2 separate regions of the Homo sapiens genome follow, and region 2 is linked to region 1. The links are contacts of gene promoters, found by promoter capture Hi-C in blood cells and fetal thymus (Javierre and others, 2016). All regions are on one chromosome and are shown on one strand. Each heading gives the region's core, a stretch centred on a gene start or on the middle of the fragment in contact. The rest is flanking DNA. Distances are from core to core; before and after follow the strand shown.

Region 1 (7,622 bases), core at 2,071-4,570:
AGCGGTTTCCTGGTCCTGCAGGAGAAGAGGCAGATCCAGAGCCCCATTCCTGGGCATCCGCCACCCAGCGTGAGCCAGGTCCTGGACTGGGTGTTGTGGGCCCTGCTGGGAGCAGGGGCAGCAGTCACATGGAGATGGTCTTCTGCTCTCATGATGCAATGTGATGGTAATCCTAACACTGAGGAAGCCAGCGCAAGCCGGCAGGGCAGGGAAGGCACCATCCAAGGGAGTGGTCTTTGAGCTAGTCCCAAAGCATAAGCAGGATTTTGCCCAGTAAGTAGGGGATATTGAGGACATATTAAGCAGGGAGAATGCCACAGTCAGAAGCTTGGTGGCTTAAAAGTACAGGATTAGATTGTGGCTGGAGGGTCGCTTTCCTGGGGTGGGGATGGAAAAGGTGGTCTTACTGTGTGGCCTCAGACAAGTCACTTCACCTCTTTGAGCCTCAGGTCCTCATCTGTAAAATGAGGCTGGGGTACCCGTATATGCCAGTGAAGGCTGGACGTCTGCGCACTTAAAAAAGCCAAACCCCTTCAGCCAGGAGGGGAATTACTGAGTGAGACACACAGCGATTGTGACAGGACTGTGTGCAAATTAAATGGCATGAGGTAAAGGCTGGGGTGCATCTAGCTCTGCGTTCAAAAATGGGGGATTCAGCACAGCTGGAGATGTCACAAGCAGCTTCCTGTAAAAGGTGAGTTAGGAACAGAGCTTCAAACCGCCGAAAAGTGAAATGGATTGGCAGAAAGGAAAAGAGAGGGCATCCCAGGCAGGCAGTCTAGCCTGAGCAAAGGCAGGAAGGTGGCAGGGAGAGAAAGCCAGACGAAGCACCACCATGGTGTGAGAGGAGGGACTGGGGAGAGGCGAGCCTGAAAAGTTCGGGCAGGAAGAGCTTGTTAAGTGCAGCCCCAAAACCAGGCTTCCATGCAGTTGGCAGTAGGGAGCCACTGTAGGCCCTATCCATAAGGACAGGCAGGCAGTAATCTAACAAATATGTAGGTACCTTCAAATGTGGGGAGGGTTTTTTTTTTTTTAAGACGGAGTCTCGCTCTGTCACCCAGGCTGGAGTGCAGTGGCGCAATCTCAGCTCACTGCAACCTCCACTTCCCATGTTCAAGCGATTCTCCTGCCTCAGCCTCCTAAGTGGCTGGGACTACAAGTGCATGCCACCATGCCCAGCTAATTTTTGTATTTTTTGTGGAGACAGGGTTTCACCATGTTGGTCAGGCTGGTCTCAAACTCCTGACCTTGTGATCTGCCCGCCTGGATCTCCCAAAGTGCTGGGATTACAGGCGTGAGCCACCGTGCCCGGCCATGGGGAGGGTTTTCAAATTGCTTTTATGTGGTGGGGAAAACAAAAGGTTGAAGGAGACATTGGAGGTAAAGGAACAGTTGATGATAAGGAACTGGGTAAAGACATAACCTTGTATAGCCACACTTATTCTCATGCACATGTAATTTTTAACTGTGATGGATAGAGTTTGGCGTTCCAGGGAGCATCGATAGCACTGCATCATGACCTTGCTCTTGTGTTGCTTAGAGATCTGCCGACAGCCGGCTCAGTTCCATCTTCAGTCATTGTGTTGCACAGTGATACGATCATTGCTGGTCTAAACATTGCCATAAACATGTCTGTTCCCCAAGCTGAAAGGGGGTTTCTGATTCTAAGGGAACAAAAGGTTTTCTGGCTTAAAAGACTTAAGACATAGTCTTTATAATAGCTTTCTTTAAAAATTTCAGTGGGTTATAATGCATAGGGTTTTTAAAAAAGAGCTAATGTGCAATATATACAATAGTCTATCCTACTGACCCAACTTCTCCCTTCCAGTTCTCCCTAAGGACAATTGTTAATCAGTTTCCTGTATACCCTTCCAGAAATATATGCAGATGTGGCATATGTCCAATTAAAGAAACCTGATACATACTGTTAGAACTGTTCAGCATCTTGGTTTCAATTTTTATATAAAATTTAGGATTACGAAATATACCAAAGCAGCATAGAAAATGAGCCCCCCATCCCCCTGCCCCATGGCCCACCACACAGGTTAACAGATGTTAACATTTTGCATTGGCGCCTTGTTTATGGCTGTCTTGGAGATAGCCCCGTGTCGCCTCCAGCTGCCTCTTTGTGGTAACTGCCCAAGAGTCGTTATTGATTATATGCATGCACCCAATATTCATTATTCGACCTGTTCCAGCTCTTGGATATTTAGCAAATTACTGATTTTCTGCTTATATAATTGTGGTGGAGGTAATACCCCATTTTGTATAAATTTTGCCCGGGTGGGTGGGCTTCGAGGCAAAGGAGAACGAGGCTCGGCTTTGGATTAGGTTCACACTCCTGCTCCGCCACACTTCTAGTTGTGTGATCTGGAGTAAGGGAAGGCCCTCACTTTCCCCATCTGTAAAATGAACTGGCTATAGTAATCCCTCCGTCTCATAGCTGCTGAGAGGAATAGAAAACTAAAGTATAGACGCTTCACTGGGCTTAGTTCCCAGTTTCCCTGGCTAGGGAGGTCTCCGCGGGGACACCAAACTCTCAAGCCCAGCCTAGCAGCTAGAGCGCCCAGCGCCTGCACTTTTGCTTTAAACTACAACCTGTTCCCCGCCTCTCTTCCTCCACCGCCACGCTGGGGGCGTGGCGGTTAAATGTCTCTGTGACGTCAGCGCGAGCAGGGCCAATCTCCTTGCCCGGCAGACGTTAGCTCGTTTGCATGGGTGGTCCGCCATTGGTCTGTTGGGCAATCTGGGCCGTACCAGCTTTTTAAAGACGCCGTGTAGTATAAACAAGGAGAAGTGGGGCGGCCGGGCCATGATGTCAGCGCGGTGCTGCAGCTCTTGGGGGTGACGTCATCTCCGGGAAGGTGGCCGGCCCAGGGTTGTTAGAGCCAGCATAACCACTTGGGCCGCTCTCGCCCCGTCAGAGGTCAGACCCATTGCACTTCAGTATCTCAGGCGGCACCCTGTCCCCGAGGAGGGGACCATGACACAGTAAGTCCGTACTGCCGGTTCTCCTGGCGGGACCCATTTCTTCGGCAGGGAAACTGAGCCTCAGAGGCGCGAGTAGTTAGCGAGTTTGCATAGCAAGTTCGAGTTGCAGCCGATCGGTTTTGCCCACCCTGGGGTCTCCCCATCTTTATGTCAGGATATGCGGCCCCGCCCCTTGCTTTTGACTATGGCTGCGGTCCCTTTAAGTGCGAAGGTGGGGGCGAGGAGGAGGTTAAAAAAATTCAAGATGGTGGCCCACTAGTCACGTGCGTGGTCGCGGCGAGTGATTGGCTCTCAGGGCGGAGCTCCCGGCGCGGGGCGGGGCCCCTGCGGGCTTGCAGCGGGCTACTGTTTGCCGGAGCCTCCCGGCGCGCCCCCGCGAGCCCCCTCCCGTCTGGCGCGCGACCCCGCCGCTTCGAATGTTGTGAATCAAATGTGGGGTTTGTTACATTCCGCTGCCGCCGCGGACAGTTCTTAAAGGGCCAGCCGCCGGCTGCCGCGCAGACCCAGCTGCGTCCTGCGCCGCCTCCCGCTCCCTGAGGGCCTGGGCCGAGAGAGACTGATCGCGCGTGGGCCTCGCGAGGCAGACGCCGTCGGGCGGACAACAAAGAGAGAGGCCCCGGAAGGAGCCGGGCTGCCCCCGGACCCGGGGGTGGGGAGGGGAGCACATTGTTCCGCAGGGCGGGAGCTCTTAAAGGATCCAGACAGGCACCCCCCCCCTCCCCCGCCCCCTGCCCAGTTTGGCCGTCCTAGATCGGGAACAAAGGAGTCAACGTGTGGCCGGGCGGCCAAAGGTGAGTCGGTGCCAGGGCCCCCAACTTCCTATTCCCCCACCCATGGACCTTCTGTTCCCCTCCCCTGGGAATGGGGGCCGTGATCTAGGTGGCTCCGTAGGGGTTAATCACGGGCGGTCCAGACTGCGGGCAGCGAGACCCCAGGGATCAGGAACCCCCCCCAAGGCCCCCCGTGGCCGGGCCGTATCTCCCCTCTCCTGCAGCTGAGCGCTGCGGTTGGAGAGGAAGGAGCCGCCCCCCTCCCCCTGCGGCCGCCACTTCCTTTGTTGTTGCTTTTGTCTCACGCCGAGCACATGGTCCGGGATCCTCGGCTCTTAAAGTCGCAGCGTTCTGGCCCCTGCGCTGCAGTCTCGCCTCCCGCCCCCGGTGTCCCTCCGAGAGCGGCGCAAAAGAGTAGGAAGCGGACGAGGGAGGCCCCTCTCGGGGCTGTGTCCGCGCCTCGGCCCCCCAGCACTATGCCTGGGGAGGGGTGGCTGGGTAAGCTTCCCAGAGCCCCACAGCGTGCACTTGGCCCGCGTTGGGGAGCCCCCCCTTCCCCAGGACCCTGGTTTCCTCCCCCACTAGTGTGACCACCTGGTTTCTTCTGGACTCTTCTGGTTTTATTTGGGCGCTGTGGGAAGGAAAGATTTCCACCCCCATTTTATAGCTGTGCCAACTGAGGCGCTCAGAAGCAAAGGGATTTCCTTGACCAAGGTCACTAGGGAGTCTTCTCTCCTAGTCTGGTGGTCCGGCCCTCAGCGGCCTCCAGGCACCACACGTTGGGAAGCTCTGCTTGCGCTGGGCAGAGCCTGCTTGTTTCGGGTGGGGTGTGGGGAAGTAGGAAGGGGGGCTTCTCTTCCTGGCTGAGTCTGCTCATGCCCCCAGGGTCTGACTTTGTTTTTATCTGCAAAAGGGAGTGTCTCTTCCTGCAAACAGATCCCTGGGGCTCTTAGACCAAGGTCAGGGTAGGTGCTTGGGGCACTGGACTTAAGGGGTTGGCCGGCTCTCATGGGTGGGTGTGGGGGGTTATGTTAACTGCAAAATGCATTGCGTGCCTGGGGCGGACGGGGCTCAGCGACGGGACTCTCAAGACCCGTTCACACAGAGCTCCGTGATAGGACAGCATGGAGATGTGGACGGGCAGAGCAGTTGTTAGGGGAGGCCACCTGGCCACCCTTGCTATTTGACCTTGAGCAAGTTGCTAGCTCCAACTCTGGGCCTTGCTTGCTTCTCTGTACTACAGAGCTAAAGATGGGTGCCTGAAAGAGAGTGCTCTCCCAGCCTCCTGTATGGCTTGGAGACTCGGGATTAGGTGATTTCCTCCAGCTACTGATGCCACAGGAGTTATGGCTTGGGGGAGTTTGGGCCTAGGAGGCCAACTAGGACCAATTCCGTTCTCTCTGGTCTTGTGGCCTAGAGTAACTTACTTCCTTTCTCTCGGCTCCAGTTTTCTCAGCCATGAAGTGGGTGTAACCCTTCTACGCCACCCCTGTTCCTGGCAGGGCTTAAAGAACCAGGATCCACTCTTACCAGCTGAGGTATTCCCCTAGAGTGGCATATCTGCCTGCTGCCCCGGAAGTGGCACCCTTCAAGCTCTGCTTGAGGTTGGAAATGGAGGTCAGCGTGTCGTATTCGCTAATAATGATCATTCACACCCAAGCTAAGTTCAAACTTTACAAGTTGCTTCTGCTGTTGCCTTGGAGCAGTCCTTGATGGGAAACTGGGAGGTAGTTATTGGGCTGTTCCCATTTTACAGATGAAGATACTGAGGCTCGGGAGGGGAAGCCCTTGCCCACGGTCTGTAGGCAAGAATCTCGCTAGAAGTCACTGTCATGTGTGAGTCTGTGAGGGCTGACATTCTTACCCACGGCTGGAGGCCCTTCTGTCTCCTGGCTTGCTTTCACAGCTCCTTACCACCTTCCCTGCCCTGGGGAGTGGGTGCCTTTGTAGGGGGCTGGCCACAGAGCAGACACCCACAGGCCTGGGCCTCTGCAGGAGTGCCTTGGGCCTGGCACTACTCAGCCATCTGCAAGACATCCTGACATAAGAGGAGCAGTCAAGGCTGCTGGCTTGGTGGCTAGTCATGGGTGCTTTATGGCCAGACTGCTTAGGTCATGCACCTGCGCACTCACGATTCCAGCTGACTGGCCTTGGACCTCACCTCTCTGAGCCTTGGTGTCCTGACCTGCCAGTGTTGCTGGGAGGACTCACCAAGTTGGCGCCGGGGAAACAGCATGGTTATTATGGTGACTGTTCTGCACCAGCAGAACTATGGGCTCCCCAGCTTTCTGAGGTTAGCTAGGGTAGAGATTCCCAAATCTAGCTGTGCTGTGACAACTTCTGGGGAATTTGTTAAACATCTAGGTGCCCTTGTTCCCCATCCCTCCAAAGTGTCTGGTCCAGGAGGACTGGGATGGGCCAGGCATCTGCTGTTTCAGTTATTTGGGGATTTCCTGAGTCTCCCTTGGCCGTTGTTTGCTTGGCTGGTTTGTTGGCAGGAGTTCGGGAGGCTGTGTGTGTAGACATGCCTGTCAGGGTGTGCACTTGGCCCAGGCCAGGGGTCACAAACCCATTCCCCGATGATGGGCAGGCAGAGGTTGGGCCTGGGTGACCTGGAGGGAAAGCTCTCGCTCCCAGTGAGGGGGCCAGGCAGAAACAAGTGGGACCAGGCTTGCCATGAGAAGCCAGGTGTTTTGTAATCTCCCAACTGTCAGTTGTTGGCATTGCTGCCAGACTGGGTGACCTTGGACCTGTGTGATTGGCTCTGTTCCGTGCACATTTCTCACATCAGGCCTGCCCTGAGCTGGACACAAGGTGGTCCCTGGCCCTGCCCACACCCTCTGCTGGTCGGGCCCCGGTCTCCCATGCGGGCTCCTTTTGAGAAGCAGGGCCCAGGCTTGTGAAGTGCAGCACAGAGGAAATGGTTCTTGCCGCTGTTGGCAGGAAGGAACTAGGTGTTGAGCTGACAGTTACACTGGCTCCCTGGCTGTGTCAACAGGGAGGTGACATTGAAAGCTGGGTATCAAGGATGCATAGGAGTTTTGTTAGATGGGGAAGGGATGGAACGAGCCTCCCTGTGGCAGGAACAACAAAGATCTGGTCCTGTTGGACGCATCCTTCAGCTTTGCAGGGCCTGACAGGTTCTAGAGCTTTTCCTGCCAGGGCCTCGTCCCAACTTTGAGTTGAGCGGAACCCTGAGGTTGAGCCAGGTCCCTCGACATCCTCCACCTGGACCCTCATCTCTGACCGGAGGCAGGAGACCCTGCCCCAACCCATTCCTATTCAGCTTCCTCTCTCGGGTTCTTCCTTCCTTTTTTTCTCAGCAGGCACCACCTCCCACTTTGAGGGCTGGGTTGGGGGCCCCAGAGCAAGGGCCTGGCTGCATGCCAGACTCCACAGTCTCCCCAGGCTGACTTCCTTCATCACCTCCCATGAAGCCTGGGGCTGGTCCTCTCCGTCGGCAGCAGAGCACAGGGAGAGGCTTTCTTTGGCCCACCTCCCAGCTTTAACACTTTACGGTGGGGCTTTGGGCAAGTTTCTTCTTGCTGAGCCTCAGTTTCCTCCCCCGTAAAATGGGCCAGCTATACATTCCTTGAAAGGTAGATGAAGTCACTCGTGGATAGGCACAGTGGGAGCAGGTTAAGGAAAGAAAGAATAGTGTCTTGCTTTGGACTGGAAGCCCCCGAGGGCAGGAGCGGGTTAGAACCTCTTGCCTGGCACCAGTAAGAGGAGAACTGGGTCCCAGGCCTGTTTGGAATCCCTGCTGGAACCAGCCAGAGGGAAGGGAGGATGTGGACCCTCCTCAGGAACCCCCAGCTGCCGCCTGGAGGCCAAGTTGTAGCCCCTGGTGTAAGGCAGAGA
Region 2 (7,622 bases), core at 1-2,500, 1.1 Mb before region 1:
GAGAGTCTGACATTAGGGTGGCAAGTGACTGACTGCTCTTGGGAAGGGCTTTCCTTTATAGCTTATGCCCTTTCAACTTTTTTGGTGTGAGTTGTTTTTTGGGGGGTTCTTTTTTGTTTTTGTTTTTGAGACAGAGTCTCACTCTGTCGTCCTGGCTGGAGTGCAGTGATGCTATCTCAGCTCACTGCAGCCTCAGCTTCCCAGGTTCAAGCAATTATCGTGCCTTAGCCTCCCAAGTATCTGGTATTAGAGGTGTGCGCCACCACACCCGGCTCATTTTTTTTTTTTTTTTTTTTTGTATTTTTACTAGAGACGGGGTTTGCCAGACGGAGGTTGCCCAGGCCGGTCCTGAACTCCCGGCCTCAAGTGATCCACCCGCCTCGGCATCCCAAAGTGCTGGGATTACAGGCAAGAGCCACCACACCCCGCCATGAGTTTTTTAACGAAAAGTGACAGAAGGTGAGAGCTGAAGGGTTTTGCCGTTCGTTTTAATATCCTTACTTGGGAAGATTAAAAGCTGCTCATTTTGTGGGGAAAGTATCATGTTCTGTGAAATCTTAAAGTCTAGATGACTTTAAGAGTTGACAAAACTCTTTGATTTTTATCACCACAATTAATCCGCCCATTTCACAGACCGGGCGGGGTCTGCAAGTCAGCAGGATATTCCCACAACATCAACTGTCTCTCCCACTTTAGCAGATGCAGGAACTAGAAGAGGAAGTACCGGAGCCCGCCTAGCTGAGAGGCTGGCGGAGAGGAGGGGGGCGGTTGGCTCACCTTGTCCTCTGGGTCCTTCACCTCCACAAACATGCCAAGCCCCGGGGTGGCCGGCTGGTACTCCTCCCGCTGCTTGTCATACAGCTGCGTCCGGTAGTTTCCTTGAGGGAAGCAGGGCGAGCCCAGGTCAGAGGAGCGCGAGGTGGCATGGGTTCCGCGACCGCCTGGGCACGGCGAGGCCGTCTCCTCCCGGCTCTAGAGAGCTGACTGTCTCGCATCCCCCGCCCCAAGACCACGGTCACGTTCCAAACTCGCCCCTTCCTCCCCGCCCCCGCACCTATGACCATGGTCTCGTCCGGGATCTCCTCAATAAAGCACTTCTTCTCCGTCTCTCCGATGTGAAAGTAGAGCGCGCTTCCGCGCGTCGCCAGCCACAGCACCAGCAGGAGGGTCCGCATCACTCTACCCAGCCCGGTTCCGGGCCGGGGCCGGACGAGCAGCACGCCCAGCTCCACAGCCATCTTGCTCCACCTGCCTGCGCAGCCGCAGCCGGCCGCGCCACGTCGCCCTGCCGCCGCCGCGGTGCCTGCCGGGACCGCGAGTTCCGCCGGGTGGACCACAAATCCCGAGATGTCCCGCGGCCCTGGCGCGGCAGTACCTGATTGGGGCGCGGCTTTTACCTGAGAGAGAGCGGGTGCCCTAGAATAAAAACTTATTTCCGTTGACTCTCTTCATGGCCTGGCAACTGACGATGGTTACCAGCTTTTCATAGATGAAACTGAGGTCGTTTGTTTGAGGTTGCGGAGCGAATTGCGAACAGAGACAGGATTCGAACCTAGGATCCCTGACTTTCCTTGGCACAGCATCTACCAGTCTTGATTTGCTTCTACCTTTAAAAATGAATTTAAAGAGAACGACCAAATAATGCACAAATGTATTATCAAAAAAGATTAAAAGAAATAAAAGGCAAGGTCTCCCATTACCACTTCTTTGTCCTCATACCCTGTCCACTCCTAAATCGGGTGTTACCCTCTCAAGCATTTCTCCGATCACACACACACACAAACACACACACAGCCTCTGCTGCCAGATCCCAACTGCAATGGCTCGTTACTAGCAATTCTACAGAAATAGAAAGGATCATAAGAGAGTACTATGAGCAAATATAAGCCAACAAATTGGATAACGTAGATGAAATGGACAAATTCATAGAAATGCAAAACTGACTCAGAATAGATAATATAATCTGAATAAACCTATAACTAGTGAGGAGATTGAATCAGTAATTTAAAAAAAATCATCCTTACTTAATATAGTTAAGATGTCAATACTATCCAAAGCAATCTACAGATTTAATGCAATTCCTGTCAAAATCCCAATGACATTTTTTGTAGAAACAGAGAAACTCATTCTACAATTCATATACTCTCAAGGGATTTCGATTAGCCAAAACAATCCTGAAAAATAAGAATAAAGCTGAAGAACTCACACTTCCTGATTTCAAAACTTACTTCCAAGCTTCAGTCATCAAGACAGTGTGGTACTGGCATATAGACAGACATATAGACCAATGGAATACAATAGAGAGCCCCAAGATATGCCCTCCCATATATGGTCAAATAATTTTTAACAAGGAGACCAAGCCCATTCAATGCGGGGAGGAGGGACAGTCTTTCTAACAAATGGTGCTGGGAAAACTGGATATCCACATGCAAAAAAGTGAAGGTGGTTCCTTCTCTAACACCATAGATAAAAATTCACCCAAAAAGACCCACAACTTTTAAAATCCCAAAGCATAAAACTCATAGAAAACATATGGCAAAGGGTTTACCACATCGGATTTGGCAACAGACTTCCTGGATATGACACTAAAGGCACAGGCAACAAAAGAAAAAATAGACAAATTGGACTTTATGAAAATTAAAACATTTTGTGCATCAAAAGACTCTGTAGCAGAGTAAAGAGGCAACCCACAGAATGGAAGAAAATATTTGCAAATCATATATCTGACAAAGGATTAATATCCAGAATATGCAGAGACTCCTAAAACTCAGCAACAAAATAAGAACAATCTCATTCAAAAACCACAACAAAGGGCTTGAATAGACATTTCTCCAGTGATCAACAAGTGGCCAGTGAGCACATGAAAAGATACTCAACATCACTAATCATTAGAGAAACACAAATCACAATGAGATAAAGAACAATGAGATACTACGTCATATACCCATTAAGATGGCCACTAGAAAAAAAAAAAGGAAAAGAAAGAAACTACAAGCATTGGCAAGGATGTGGGGAAATTGAACCCTTGTGCACTGTTGGTGGGAATGTAAAATGGTACAGACACTGTGGAAAACCGTATAATGATTCCTCAAAAAAGTGAAAATAGGCTGGGCATGGTGGCTTACGCCTATAATTCCAGCGCTTTGGGAGGCAGAAGCAGGAGGATTGCTTGAGCCCAGGAGTTCGAGACCAGTCGGGGCAACATGACGAAACCCCATCTCTACAAAAAATACAAAAATTAACTGGATCTGGTGGCATGCGCCTGTAGTCCCAGCTACTCAGGAGGCTGAGGCAAGAGGATTGCTTGAGCCTGGGAGGTCAAGGCTACAGTGAGCTGTGATCATGCCACTGCACTCCAGCCTGGGTGACAAAGCAAGACACTGTCTCAAAATAAATAAATAAAAATAGAATTACCATATGATTCAGCAAGTCCATATCTAGAGATATCCTCAAAATAATTAAAAGTAGGGTCTCAAAGAGATATTTGTACACATATGTTCACAGCAGCATTATTCACAAGCAAAAAAAAAAATGGAAGCAACCCAGTTCTTCATCAGTAGATGAATAGATAAGCAAAATATGGTACATCCACACAATGGAAATCCTTTCAGCCTTAGAAAGGATGGGAATTCTGACACATGCTACAACATAGATGAATCTTGAAGAAACATTACGCTAAGTGGACTAAGCCAGACATAAAATGATAAATACTGGGTAATTCCATGTATATGAGGTACTAGAGTCGTCAAAATCACAGAGACAGAAAGCAGAATGGTGGTTGCCAGGGACTGGAGGACAGGGAGAGTGAAGTTATTGTTTAATAGGTATAGAGTTTCAGTTTTCCAAGATAAAAAGAGTTCTGTAGATGGATGGTGGTGAGAGTTCTATGGCAATATAATGTACTTAATCCCACTGAAGTGTACAGTTAAAAACAGTCAACTTTGGCCGGGCACGGTGGCTCACGCTTGTAATCCCAGCACTTTGGGAGACCGAGGCGGGAGGATCACAAGGTCAGGAGATCGAGACCTGCCTCACCAACATGGAGAAACCCTGTTTCTACTAAAAATACAAAATTAGCCTGTGTGGTGGCACATGCCTGTAATCCCAGCTCCTCGGGAGGCTGAGGCAGGAGAATTACTTGAACCTGGGAAGCAGAGGTTTGGTGAGCTGAGAAGGCACCTTTGCATTCTAGCCTGGGCAACAAGAGTGAAACTCCATCTCAAAAAAAAAAACAAAAGTGTGGTAGAATGCTCCAGTGTAATCATCTGGGCCTTGAAATTTCCTTTTGGGGAGTGTTTTAATTATGAATTAAATTTCCTTAATAGCTATAGGGCTATTCAAAGTATCTATTTCATACTAGTAAGTTGTGATAGTGTGTGCTTTTTGAGTAATTGATCTATTTTGCCTAAATTGTTACATTTATGTATGTAGAGGTTCAGTCAGGATGGTGGGGAAAATTATACAATAAAACACAAAACTTGGAAGGCCAAAAGGTTTTTGCTTAGCTTCAGATAGTTTGGCTGAAAGCGGCCTAATCCTCTTTGAGCCATAGCAAGGGTAAGTAACATAGGAATGTAGAGGAGTCTATCTAAATAGCTTGTTTACTCATGTGGTTCTAAAAGTAACCTTTAATCATTCGCGGGCAGGATGGCGCTCTGGGGGAGGCAGGGGAAGGCGACCAGGTTGATTACCCTCTAATGGTGTTTACTTGAGACTTTTGCTGTGTTTAATGTGTGCTAAGTAAATGACGAGAAGGCCAGCGAGTAGGAGGCGGGGAGTCGGGGCCACGTTGCAAATGTACAGCACTCTCCTGGGAGTCTGTAGGGGGCCTGGACAATCGGCCTGACTGACAAGCAGAATATCTGTGTCAGTGTACATTATTCATCTGTCGTTGAGTTGAGGTCTGCAGCACACACCCCCACATATGTATGTAAAGTTGTCCGTGGAATTATTCTCTTATGATCCTTCTGATGTGGGCAGGGTCTGTACTGATGTCACCCGTTTCATTACTGATACTGGTGATTTATGTCTTCTTTTTTCTGTATCAGTCTTGTAAGAGGTTTGTCAATTTTATCAGTCTTTTCAAAGAATCAGCTTTTTGTGTCATTGATTTTCTCTGTTGCTTTTCTGTTTTTAATTTCATTGGTTTCTGCTTGTTATTTTTTCCTCTTCTGCTTGCTTTGGATTTAGTTTGTTCTTCTTATTCTAGTGACTTGAAGTAGAAGTTTGTGGGGTTTTTTTGTTGTTTTGTTTTGTTTTGATTTTTGAGACAAGGTCTCACTCTGTCACCCAGGATGGAGTACAGTAGCAACATCTCGGCTCATCGCAGCCTCCACCTCCCAGGTTCAAGCGATTCTCCTGCCTCACCCTCCCAAGTAGCTGGGATTACAGGCATGTGTCACCATGCTCTGCTAATTTTTGTATTTTTAGTAGAGATGGGGTTTCACCATGTTGCCCAGGCTGGTCTCGAACCCCTGACCTCAGGTGATCTGCCCTCTTCAGCCTCCCAAAGTGCTGAGATTATAGGCATGAGCCACTGCACCCGGCCAGAAGTAGTTTAGATTATTGATTTGAGACTCCTCTTTTAGTTAGGATTTTGGTTGTACCTAGCCAGAGGAATGGAGAAAAGTATGTCTATATCATCTTCTCAGAAGCAGAAGTCCTAAACTATCAGGTATGTTTTAAAGAACAAAATTATTACAAATAAAATTAAATCCTTATTCCCTCCATCCCTTTCCAGATGCAGCTACTTTAATAACTTTGATTTATATCTATTCCACTAATAAGATATTTTAAAAATAGGCCGGGTGTGGTGGCTCACACCTGTAATCCCAGCACTTTGGAAGGCTGAAGCAGGAGAGCTGCTTGAGCTCAGGAGTTCACGACCAGACTGGGCAACATGGTGAAATCCTGTCTCTACAAAAAAATACAAAAATTAGCCGGGTGTTGTGGCTCGCACCTGTAGTCCCAACTACTTAGCCAGGCGTGGTGGCACATTCCTGTAGTCCCAGCTACTTAGGAGGCTGAAGTGGGAGGATTGCTTGAGCCCAGGAGGTCAAGGCTGCAGTGAGCTGTGATTGTGCCACTGTACTCTAGCCTGGGTGACAGTGAGACCTGTCTCAATAAATAAATAAATAAAAATTAAAAGAAAGAAATTATGGACCAGGTGCAGTGGCTCACGCCTGTAATCCCCACACTTTGGGAGGCCAAGGTAGATGGATCACCTGAAGTCAGGAGTTCGAGACCAGCCTGGCCAACATGGTAAAGCCCCGTTTCTACTAAAAATACAAAAATTAGCCAGGCATGATAGCACACACCTGTAATCCCAGCTACTCGGGAGCCTGAGGCAGGAGAATCACTTGAACCCGGGAGGCGGAGGTTGCAGTGAGCTGAGATCATGCCACTGCACTCCAGCCTTGGCGACAGAGTGACACTCTGTCTCAAAAAAATAAAATAAATTATGGCACACTTCTATAATTAAATATTATATCGCCATGAAAAAAGAATGGCCATCTGGTTATCAGTAAGAAATTGGTAACTATGCCTGCTTATATAAAAGAGGAACAGGGGTTTGGGGAGCTATTGTGGGAGAGGAAGCTGCTTTGTAAATGTTTTACTGAAGCATAAAAAAAAGACAGAAAAGTGCATAAGCTAAATGTTTACCTCTCAGTGAATTTTCATAAATTGAACACAATTTGTGAAAATACCAACACCAGATGCCATAAATGTGTATAGTTGCTGTCTCTGCATCTATTTTTGGGTCTGGCATAAGTTGTCTGAAGCCCAGCCATACCCTTTCACCTTTGGCCTAGTTAAAACTTCCCGTCCCCATGTAGTTGCCTCTGATATAATTCACTCATTCCTCATCCCACTAATTCAAAACCCAACACACCCCATAGCTGCTGACCACGATAAAACCTAATGGTCATCACTAGGGTCATGTAAATGTTTCCCCTTTCATGCATGCTTTCTTTAAAATGCTCAACATCACTAATGATCAGGGAAATGCAAATCAAAACCACAATGCAATACCACCTTACTCCTGCAAGGATGGCCACCATCAAAAAATCAAAAAATAATAGGTGTTGGTGTGGATGGAGTGAACAGGGAACATTTCTACACTGCTGGTGGGGATGTAAACTAGTACAGCCAGTATGGAAGACAGTGTGGAGATTCCTTAAAGAACTAAAAGTAGAACTACCATTTGATCCAGAAATCCCACTACTGGGTATCTACCTAGAGGAAAAGAGGTCATTCTACGAAAAAGATACTTGCACACACATGTTTATAGCAGCACAATTCACAATTGCAAAAATGTGGAACCAACCCAAATGCCCATCAATAAATAAACTGGTATATATATATATATATATATACACACATATATATATTATGGAATACTACTCAGCCATAAAAAGGAATAAATTAATGGCATTTGCAGCATCCTGGATGGAACTGGAGACTATTATTCTAAGTGAAGTAACTCAGGAAGGGAAAACCAAACGTCGTATGTTCTCACTCATAACTGGGAGCTAAGCTATGAGGCTGTAAAGGCATAAGAATGACACAATAGACTCTGGGGACTCAGGGGGAAAGGGTGCGAAGGGGGTTGAGGGATAAGA

What was found. The method cuts DNA at HindIII sites, captures the fragments that hold promoters and counts their contacts. A CHiCAGO score of 5 or more calls a contact.
Region 2: a contact is called between the fragment with the promoter of TMED9 here and the fragment with the promoter of RNF44 in region 1, in 1 of 17 cell types (monocytes). The highest score is 6.6, in monocytes.

What each region holds. Positions count from the first base shown.
Region 1 is chr5:176,533,100-176,540,721 of GRCh38, reverse strand. RNF44 (ring finger protein 44) reads left to right here and starts at 3,320. Exons shown (of 11, transcript NM_014901.5): 1 at 3,320-3,782. LOC124901143 (a long non-coding RNA gene) reads right to left here and starts at 2,793. Exons shown (of 2, transcript XR_007059071.1): 1 at 2,599-2,793; 2 at 1,425-1,664. RefSeq lists enhancers at 2,327-2,506, 2,747-3,186, 5,933-6,602, 6,773-6,992 and silencers at 3,297-3,556, 3,637-3,826. The HindIII fragment of the contact is 3,937 bases long and covers 330-4,266 here.
Region 2 is chr5:177,585,831-177,593,452 of GRCh38, reverse strand. It overlaps TMED9 (transmembrane p24 trafficking protein 9), which reads right to left and starts at 1,250. Exons shown (of 5, transcript NM_017510.6): 1 at 1,055-1,250; 2 at 778-878. The coding sequence starts at 1,238. RefSeq lists an enhancer at 1-45. The HindIII fragment of the contact is 2,414 bases long and covers 1-2,237 here.